2 separate regions of the Homo sapiens genome follow, and region 2 is linked to region 1. Evidence: promoter capture Hi-C in human tissues and cell types (Jung and others, 2019). All regions are on one chromosome and are shown on one strand. Each heading gives the region's core, a stretch centred on a gene start or on the middle of the fragment in contact. The rest is flanking DNA. Distances are from core to core; before and after follow the strand shown. Region 1 holds the start of SLN (sarcolipin). Region 2 overlaps ALKBH8 (alkB homolog 8, tRNA methyltransferase).

Region 1 (4,792 bases), core at 1,342-3,841:
CTGTATTGATTATATTATCAATGGACCAAATTGTTAATTGCATAAATGCCAACTGAATGATCATTTTTCATATTGTGTAATTGGCATAACATACAGGTTCAGCCAGGCATGGCAGTCGGTACCTGTAGTCCTAGCTAATTGGGAAGCTGAGGTGGGAGGATCCCTTGAGCCTAGGAGTTTAAGACCAGCTTAGGCAACATAATGAGACCCTGTCTCAAAAAAAAATACAAGTTCAAATCAGATGGTGCCAACCAGTAGATATATAGCCAAATGATGACAGATTTATATTTCATCTCCCTTTTAATTATTATCCATCTTTTAGACCTCAGCATGAAGGAAATAGTAAATTGCCAATGAAAACCATTACAAATGGCTGGGCGTGGTGGCTCATGCCTCTAATCCCAGCCCTTTGGGAGGCTGGAGTGGGAGGATCACTTGAGCCTAGGAGTTCAAGACCAGCCTGGATAACACAGCAAGACCCTGTCTCTCCAAGAAAATAAAAAGGGGAAAAAATAGAAAATCTTTACAAAGATTTGCATGGAGGAGAAAGTAAACAGAATAAAATGAATGGATCAAGGAAAAAGGATTTATGAGAATGTACAAAAGAGCAGAGGAGAACAGAACGGTAATGAGTCTTGCCAAGGTGCCTGGAGGCAAAGGAATGAGAAACGAAGACAGACTCTTTCTTATAAACTTATCAATGAAATAAAACCATAGTCCAAATGTCCATCTATTTGGGTAAGTTCTCAAGAAATGCAGAGATAAGCAGAAAATATGAAGCCTGGCTTATAATGGTCAAAACAATTCAAGGAGAGCAAAACAACGGTCCCACCAAATCTGCCTATTAAATTAAGCTGTTAAGTCATGGGAATCATGGATAGTGATCCAACAGGATATACTCAGAAAATGAGAAAAATACTATTGAAAGCTGTTCCACAGCTCTGTTTGTGTTACCTTCGCAACAACTCAGGCAAGTGTTACTGCAGTTTTTATCTTTCTCAAGATTACAGCTGAGAAACTGACTTTTAGAGAGAGGAGATTAAGATGTTTGTGTAATGACAGATAACAAGTTAGAGGCAAAGCTAGAATTAGCAGACTGGAACTAGTTACTAGAATTCCTAGGAGTTATGACACAAGTGAATTGTCACTGCAATTAACTGGCCTGGCTAAACAAAGTTAGCATAAATTTTCAACCACTTTGGAAAACAATTTAGCTTTCTTAGAATTAATGTTGAAAATGTTCATTCTCTAATATCTGGCATTTCACTTCTACCTTAAGACAGTCAAGGACGTGCGTGCCAGGTTACATAAATAAAGAGTTCACAGCAATATTATCACAATAACTCCAAACTGGAAACAACTCAAATGTTTATCAACAGCAGAATGGATGATAAATTGTGGTATAGTTATACATTTGAATTTCATAAAGCAAAGAAAATATATGAACTATAGCTACACAGAAAATGGGTAGATCTCACAAATATAATTGTTGGGTGAAAGAAGAATTTACAAAAGAAACAGAGAATATGACTCCATTTATATGATGTCAAAAATAGGGAGGTTAATCATATTGTTTAGGCATGCAGACATAGATGGTCAAATTATAAAGAATAACAGGGACAAGAGGATCCCAACATCTTGGGGCAGAATGGGGGTTGATCAAGAATGGGCTTCTGGGTGCTGGCAATGATCTGTTTCTTGACCTGGATGATAATTATAGAAGTGTTGCCTTTCAGTTATTGTTTAAACTGTGTATGTTTATGCACTCTTAACTTTTTTTTTTTCAGTCATTTCTGAATTAGCAGGCTACCCATCACACTTCTTTCTTTCTTGGGATTTACCTCTTACTACTTCTTGCACTTTAATGGTGACCTTGAATATTTGTTGTTTTATGTGATTTTAGATGAATAAAACATGAAGAGTTAAGGTGAGAATTTCTAGTGAATTCAATTCAATCAACACATATGCTAACTGTAAGGTGTGGTGTGAACATTCCTTTCACACACATTTATACACTTTAGGAAGAATGAACCAGTTAGGCAGAAATTCAGATCAGCCAAGTTCCATTTTTCTGCTTTTAACCAATAAAGACACTTTGGGTTTCATTTTAAACATTCCCTGAAGTCAAGGTCATGCCATATGATCCAGTGATTGCAAATGGATGAACTAAAACCCAAAAAGCTCTGAATAAATTGTGCAGGAAGTTTGACATTGGCTTTCTTTGAATGGAGACTTAGAGAAGATAGAAAAAAGACCATCTTCCATAATACAAGAAAGAAAAAAAATTTTTTTTTACTAGGAAGGGAGAAAATGCATACCCTTAGGAGAAAAAAAAAGGAAAACAGAAAGCAATAGTACTCACTTTATATCTTAAGGCATGCTGTATCCAAGGGGCATTGCCTATTTCATTAAGAAATGCAAACATTCCTCTGCCTTTCTCATTTGCAGCTTGTACACACACACACACCGTATGCTAAGCATAAAAATCCTGCAGTTACCTGAAGAGGATCAAAGACACACCCTGGCTATGGCAGGTTTCTCCTCGCTGTCTCCAACTTGAGCTCCAACTCCTTCTCCCCTCCCAGGCTGTCTGGACTCCTGGACTCTGGGCAGCGCCTAAAGTAGTCCGTGGAAGCTGGCAATCACTGTGATGTCACTGATGAAACATCTCAAAGGAACACCCTCCGAAGGTTCGAGGCTATTTGTGTTCGGGGGACATGGAAATATGTTGACTAAGACTTTGTTCCTTTGGCTGCCAATTTGCCACCACCAGGATTTAAAAACCTTCTGTTTCCAGTTGACTTTTAGTGCAATTGATGTGGGTTTTAAATGTGTCTTTTACATCTTCATGAATAACTTTAACATGTCTTTAAAACATCATAAACCAAGAATGATAGACTAATTTTAACCAATCGATGCTGCATTTGACTGCTCTCCCTAGTCAGCCTGTGAGGTGTAAAAATGTGACTTCATTTTACCACCCATATCTTTAGTTATTTGAAATGTGAAGAGTTTGCTGCCTTACACCCACACATATGCACACCCATACACACACACACACACTCCAGAATTCAATAGGCATCTTTAGCTCTTTCAAAACTGACTTTAGTCCAAGCAGTGAAAGCTATCCCCTCCGTCACCTGCTCCACGTAACTTTCCAGCTAAGCTGTGCATTGCAAGTTTACACGTGGATCTACAGTTTCATCTGAAACAGCCGAGGAAGTCATGGTTTGTATATCTCTGGCAATAAATTAATAGAGCAGTAAACTCACACAGTTCAACTCAGTTATTTGGATAGATTGGGAGTGGAAGGAGAACTGGGTAAAATTAGTGAAAAATGTGAATTATAGAATATATCTGAAAGAAAGAAAAGTATTATATAACTTTCTAATATGAACACTAACTAAAATTAGACTAAGATGAGTTTGTAACCAATGTATCACATGTTTGGAGCCCCTGAAGTGTTAAATTAGACTTGAAAGCAGATCAATTAAGTACTTTAAACATGACCCTAGCAATTGTGTTTGCTCAGCAGATCCTTTCTTTATAGATAATAGAGGAAATCTCCCCCTCTGAATTCCCAATTAGGGTCAATCAAAATAATGCATTCCCAAAAGGCATAAACAAACAAAATTCTCTATGCAGTTATGCTCATAGTCAAACCTTTCCCTCCATTCCTCATACCCCAGAGACATTACCAAAACAAGACTTTCCATTTCATTTCCTCATTTTAACATAAGCTTAGCAACGGGTAATCTTAATACAACATTCTGTCACCACTTGTCTTGTGAAAAGAGCGCTTGCTGAAGTGACAGAGAGTGTATAATAATTATAGTGCAACCGAACATTGGCAGTTATCTGTTGCCATCTGGCAAACTCCTTGAATGTAATCAGAGTTCTGTCTTCTGCCTCCAAGCTCTCACTAGATTGTTTCCCAGGCTGGGAATGTTTTTCTAGTTACCAAGCCACACCTGTCCCTTTTTGTAACCACTCAAAATTATTTTTTGTCAAATTAAAAAAGTTATATATTTATTGTAGGACATGTGAAAATATATTAAAGTATTTAAAACTTTTAAATTACTTTTAATCTCACCACCCAAAGGGGAAAAAAACAAAACTTTACTTTACTTTTTTTTTCTTTTGAGATGGAGTTTTGCTCTTGTCACCCAGGCTGGAGTGCAGTGGCGTGATCTCAGCTCACTGCAACCTCCGCCTCCCGGGTTCGAGCGATTCTCCTGCCTCAGCCTCCTGGGTAGCTGGGATTACAGGCATGCACCACTATGCCTGGCTAATTTTTGTATTTTTAGTAGAGATGGGGCTTCACCATGTTGGCCAGGCTGGCCTTGAGCTTCTGACCTCAGGTGATCCAACCGCCTCAGCCTCCCAAAGTGCTAGGATTATAGGTGTGAGCCACCGGGTGCCCGGCCTACATTACTTTTTATTCATCCGTTTGAGGCTGCATAGGCACAATCTCAAATTCCCAGGATATTTTTGGTAAAAGAATCTGAAACTTGAAAACCTTTTTTCTTAATTCATTTGGAATCAAATTATTTGTAGTATATCATGTGTTGATATTAGGTTTATGGGATAAGCATTTATTTTGTACATCTCAGATTATGAATTAGCTCTACAATATTTAAAATGTTAAATACAATAGCGAAATGTTAACGTATCACCAAAAGAGCTCTCCAATGTTGTCATTTTGTTGAATTGGTCAATTTCAAAGTAACTTAGAAGAAAAATTCTACTTCTTATTTGACCGAATTGATGGGTTAGTCTGGTTTGCCTCATT
Region 2 (4,792 bases), core at 996-3,495, 180 kb before region 1:
AAAAGTATACAGAGCTAAAGTAGTTTTCTTCCTTTCTAACCTATCCTTCCAATCTAAGTATGGAAAATAAAGTCATGTGATAGAGTTTAATTTCCTAACAGTTATCTGTTCCAGATGTCTACATATAATTTCATATAGTCATACCCTGAAAGCATTCGAAACACCGGAGATTAATTCTGAAGTTTTTAGAGATGAAGTGTATTGATACCTGCAACCTTCTTAAAATGTATACATAAAAGATGGACCAATAAACAGATAAAGGGATGAGAAGATGGTTAGATTATTTGGTAAAGCAAGTATATTAAAATATTAATTGTAGAATCTAGCTAGTAGACATATAAGTATTTACTGTACAATTCTTCAACTTTTCTGTATGAAAATATTCATAATTGGCTGAGCGTGGTGGCTCATGCCTGTAATCCCAGCACTTTGGGAGGCCGAGGTGGGCAGACCACTTGAGGTCAGGAGTTTGAGACCAGCCTGGCCAACATGGAGAAACCCTGTCTCTACTACAAATACAAAACATTAGCCGGGCATAGTGGTGGGCACCTGTAATCTCAGCTACTCAGGAGGCTGAGGCAGGGGAATTACTTGAACCCAGGAGGCGGAGGTTGCAGGGAGCTGAGTTCACGCCACTACACTCCAGCCTGGGAAACAGAGCGAGACACCGTCTCACCAAAAAATAAATAAATAAATAAATAAATTCATAATAAATTGTTGGGGGGAAATGGGAAAACCACAGTGGCCTCTTTTTAAACCAATTTATATAGGTTTCAGTTTTGTTAATAGAAGCCAAGGCCCACACCTCGAAAGAATAATGAGCATATTTATTATTAGAGACAATTATCTGTGGCTTAAAGGAAATCCATGCCCAGATATCCAGATGAAAACTGTCATGATGGGAAAATATTCTAGAAGACTAGACTCTAATTTGTTAGACAAATTTTATTAATCGTTTGGTGAGATATCAAAGGCTACAAGAGTGAAGAGAGACAAGCTCTATATCCACCTAGAAGTTACACTTTTTGGCTAATATTGAACATGTTTTACAAAGGCACAATACATACGTATTTGTGAAATTCAAACTTATTCCCTCCCATCAACGGACAGTAGTGATTTTCAAATAGGAAAATTTCAGCTTAAACAAGTGATTAGAACTCACAAGAGATATATGAACATGATATTAGTTAATTTTGAAACACCTGTCCTGGCATATACAAGCCAAGTTTCAAGGAGGAAAAATATACAACCAAATAAGCTAAATGTTTTTCTTTTTCTGTATCAAATTGACCATTCCTCATCTTTTTTTTTTTTCTCAATAGGTTTTTGGGGAACAGGTGGTGTTTGGTTATATGGATAAGTTCTTTAGTGGTGATTTCTGAGATTTTTGGTGCACCCATCACCCGAGCAGTGTACACTGTACCCAATGTGTAGTCCTTTACCCCTCACCCCCGCAACTTTTCCCCAAAGTCCCCAAAGTCCAATGTATCATTCTTATGCCTTTGCATCCTCATAGCTTAGCTCCCACTTATGAGTGAGAACATACAATGTTTGGTTTTCCATTCCTGAGTTATTTCACTTAGAATAATAGTCTCCAGTTCCATCCAGGTTGCTGCGAATGTCATTATTTTGTTCCTTTTTATGGCTGAGTAGTATTCCATTGTCTATATATACCACATTTTCTTTATCCACTCGTTGATTGATGGGCATTTGGGCTGGTTCCATATTTTTGCAAATTGCAAATGGTGCTGCTATAAGCGTGTGTGCAATTATCTTTTTTGTACAATAACTTCTTTTCCTCTGGGTAGATACCTGGGAGTGGGTCTGCTGGATCAAATGGCAGATCTACTTTTAGTTCTTCAAGGAATCTCCACATTGTTTTCCAAAGTGGTTGTACTACTTTACATTCTGACCAATAGTGTAAAAGTGTTCCCTTTTTTACCACATCCCTGCTAACATCTTTTATTTTTTAAATTTTTTTATTATGGTCATTCTCCCAGGAGTAAGGTGGCATTGCATTGTGGTTTTGATTTGCATTTCCCTGATAATTAGTGATGTTGAACATTTTTTCACATGCTTGTTGTCCACTTGTATATTGTCTTTTAAGAATTGTCTATTCATGTCCTTAGCCCATTTTTTGATATGATTGTTTGTTTTTTTCTCACTGATTGAAATTCTTAACTTTATCTTTGAACTTGTGTTAAATGAAGTCTGATGTAACAATGGAGTATGGGCTTAAGCAAGGAGATGCACGCAATATGCTTGTCCACAGTTCCTTGAGGCCCATTTGGGTAATGTGTCCACAATGTCCCATGAACACAGAAAGTGTGAGAGTTCACCGAGACTCAGAGTACACAGTAAGCACTTTATGTCTACCACTGAGTGAGTGAGGGTACACTGACAGCCTAGAGGGTCCTCCAGAACTTGCTTCAAATGTAGAAAGAAGACAATGGTGTTCTAAGAAACACAAGCAATCAAGTGTTAAATTAAATTTAGCCTAAAGTTAGTTGCCTCCTTATAAGTTCAGCCTAAAGGTTCTTCATACATAGTGAACTGTAATCTAACTGGATGTCTAAACAGACTGCTACCTACTATTTTACCAATCACTGAGTTTCACACAATAAAGGTGGCCATCTGTTCAAACCATGTCCACATAAGGCAAACGCCAAGCTGTAACTAATCCAGGTGTTTCTGTACCTCACTTCTGTTTTCTATATGTCACTTTACTTTTTCTGTCCATAAATTCTCTCCAACCACTCGGCAGCACTGGAGTCTCTCTGAACCTATTCTGGTTCAGGGCATTGCCTGATTTATCAATCATTCATTGCATAATTAAACTCAATTAAATTTAACTTGTCTAAAGTAACACAAGGAACCCCACCATCATATCCTTTCTTATTCATGTTACTTCCCTGTGTTAGCCAACTGCTTAACAGTGAAAATGATGATGTAGAAGAATACGGAATGACAGGACAACCTGAAGGCTGAAAGAAAGAGCTCAGAGTAGTGGATTAATGCAATAAGCCAAAAATGAAAGTTGATCACTTATTGTGATATAATAGCATAAACAAAGGTCTAAAACCAGAGGAAGCACCAACTCCCCCCAGTCCCATTTTTCTCCACTGAACACTGCATGACTTGAGGTTGAGGTGGATCATCTTGAATGTGGGGATTGTCTCACTGCTGAGGGAACCCTGAATGAAAGGTTCCAGCAGTGTTATAAACTCAGCGGTAAGGGGAAGGGTGAGTGGGAAAGACTAGGAATTGAAAAGTAGCTAGTACCAAGTCAGAGTAAGGAAAATGTCTTTGAGGTTTCCAACTCCCTCCTCCACAAAAAGGCCTCGGCAGAGGTGCCTGAAGAGGACGTCAGCCAAAGACCTCAGATAAAGAGTTCGAGGAATGAAGGTGTCTAGGCTAGGAATGCAAATAGGCATAAGAGCATAACCAGCCAGGGACGTTTGACCCCTTCATTACAACTCCACTTAGACTGTAATGCACTGGCTGTGCATCAAGTCTACTATGAGGAGGGCAGCTTTTTCCCCCATGAGGCCACCAGGTAAAGCCTTTGTCATCACCTATGGTGAGGCCTGAAAAATCACATAGGGTTTCAGCCTGGAGCCAGACTCCTGAAAATTCATAATTCCATTTCCTTCCAGTCCTTCTAGAAGACAGACAATGTTAGCAGAAGGTGCACAAATCAAGAAGTGAAACAAAAATGGTTATTGTTGGGTTAGTTTTGTGCAGTGTTTCCACTATTCTGGTAAAAATGATCACAAATGAATGTACAAGTACAAAATACAAATTGTTTAAGTTTGGTGATTCCCAATAGCAAAGACATGGAATCAATGTAAATGCCCATCAATGATAGACTAGAACAAGAACATGTGGTACATATACACCATGGAATACTATGCAGCCATAAAAAGGAATGAGATCATGTCCTTTGCAGGGACACAGATGGAGTTGGAAGCCACTATCTTCAGCAAACTAGCACAGGAACAGAAAACCAAATACCACATGTTCTCACTTATAAGTGGTACCTGAATGATGAGAACACATGGACACATTGAGGGGGAACATCACACACTGGGGCCTGTTGGAGGGGGTGGTGGGGGAAGGGAGAGCATCAGGAAGAATAGCTAATAGATGCTGGGCTTAATACCTAGGTGATGGGATGATCTGTGCAGCAAACCACCATGGAACATGTTTATCTATGTAACAAACCTGCACATGTACCCCTGAACTTAAAATAAAAGTTGAAGACAAAAAAAAAAAAAAATTTGGTGATTCCATATGAGTTACATGTTCTTACATTTGCATTTAAAACTAGTGTCACACAATATGAAGACAAATGGTAAAATTCATGCCAATAAATCAAAATTTAGATTTCTTTACACTGATGGCACTAAATAGAAAATAAAAACCACTTTGACAAGATGAGAAAGACCACAGAAGGAAAAGCTTTATACTTTAGTGCCTTTCTGGTCCATTTTCCTATGTTTTGAATAAGGAGTCTATACTTTCATTTGGAATTGGGCCCCACAATTTAGATAGCCGGCCTTGGAAGTTCTGAATTTTTTTTTAATGTTGTCAATCTATTTTATGACTACAAGACACAAAAACACAATTTCTTCATATGCTTACAAAGCCCCCATCTTGATCAGATAAATATTCGCTCCTATTTTATTACAGATTTTCTGTTTTTTTTTACACATTTTATCCTTTATATCTCTGAAACTTATTTTGGCATATAATTTGACAGTATATTTTTTTAAATTTAGATATAATTTTA

The links. The method cuts DNA at HindIII sites, captures the fragments that hold promoters and counts their contacts. A contact is called where the count stands out against the background at its distance.
Region 2: a contact is called between a fragment that was not itself captured here and the fragment with the promoter of SLN in region 1, in 1 of the 25 tissues and cell types used here (IMR-90 fibroblasts).

Annotation. Positions count from the first base shown.
Region 1 is chr11:107,709,465-107,714,256 of GRCh38, forward strand. SLN (sarcolipin) reads right to left here and starts at 2,592. Exons shown (of 2, transcript NM_003063.3): 1 at 2,499-2,592. The HindIII fragment of the contact is 6,706 bases long and covers 1-4,792 here.
Region 2 is chr11:107,533,456-107,538,247 of GRCh38, forward strand. All of the region lies in intron 7 of ALKBH8 (alkB homolog 8, tRNA methyltransferase), which reads right to left. Among named protein-coding and RNA genes, the nearest start is that of ALKBH8, 30 kb to the right of the region's middle. The HindIII fragment of the contact is 5,066 bases long and covers 1-4,778 here.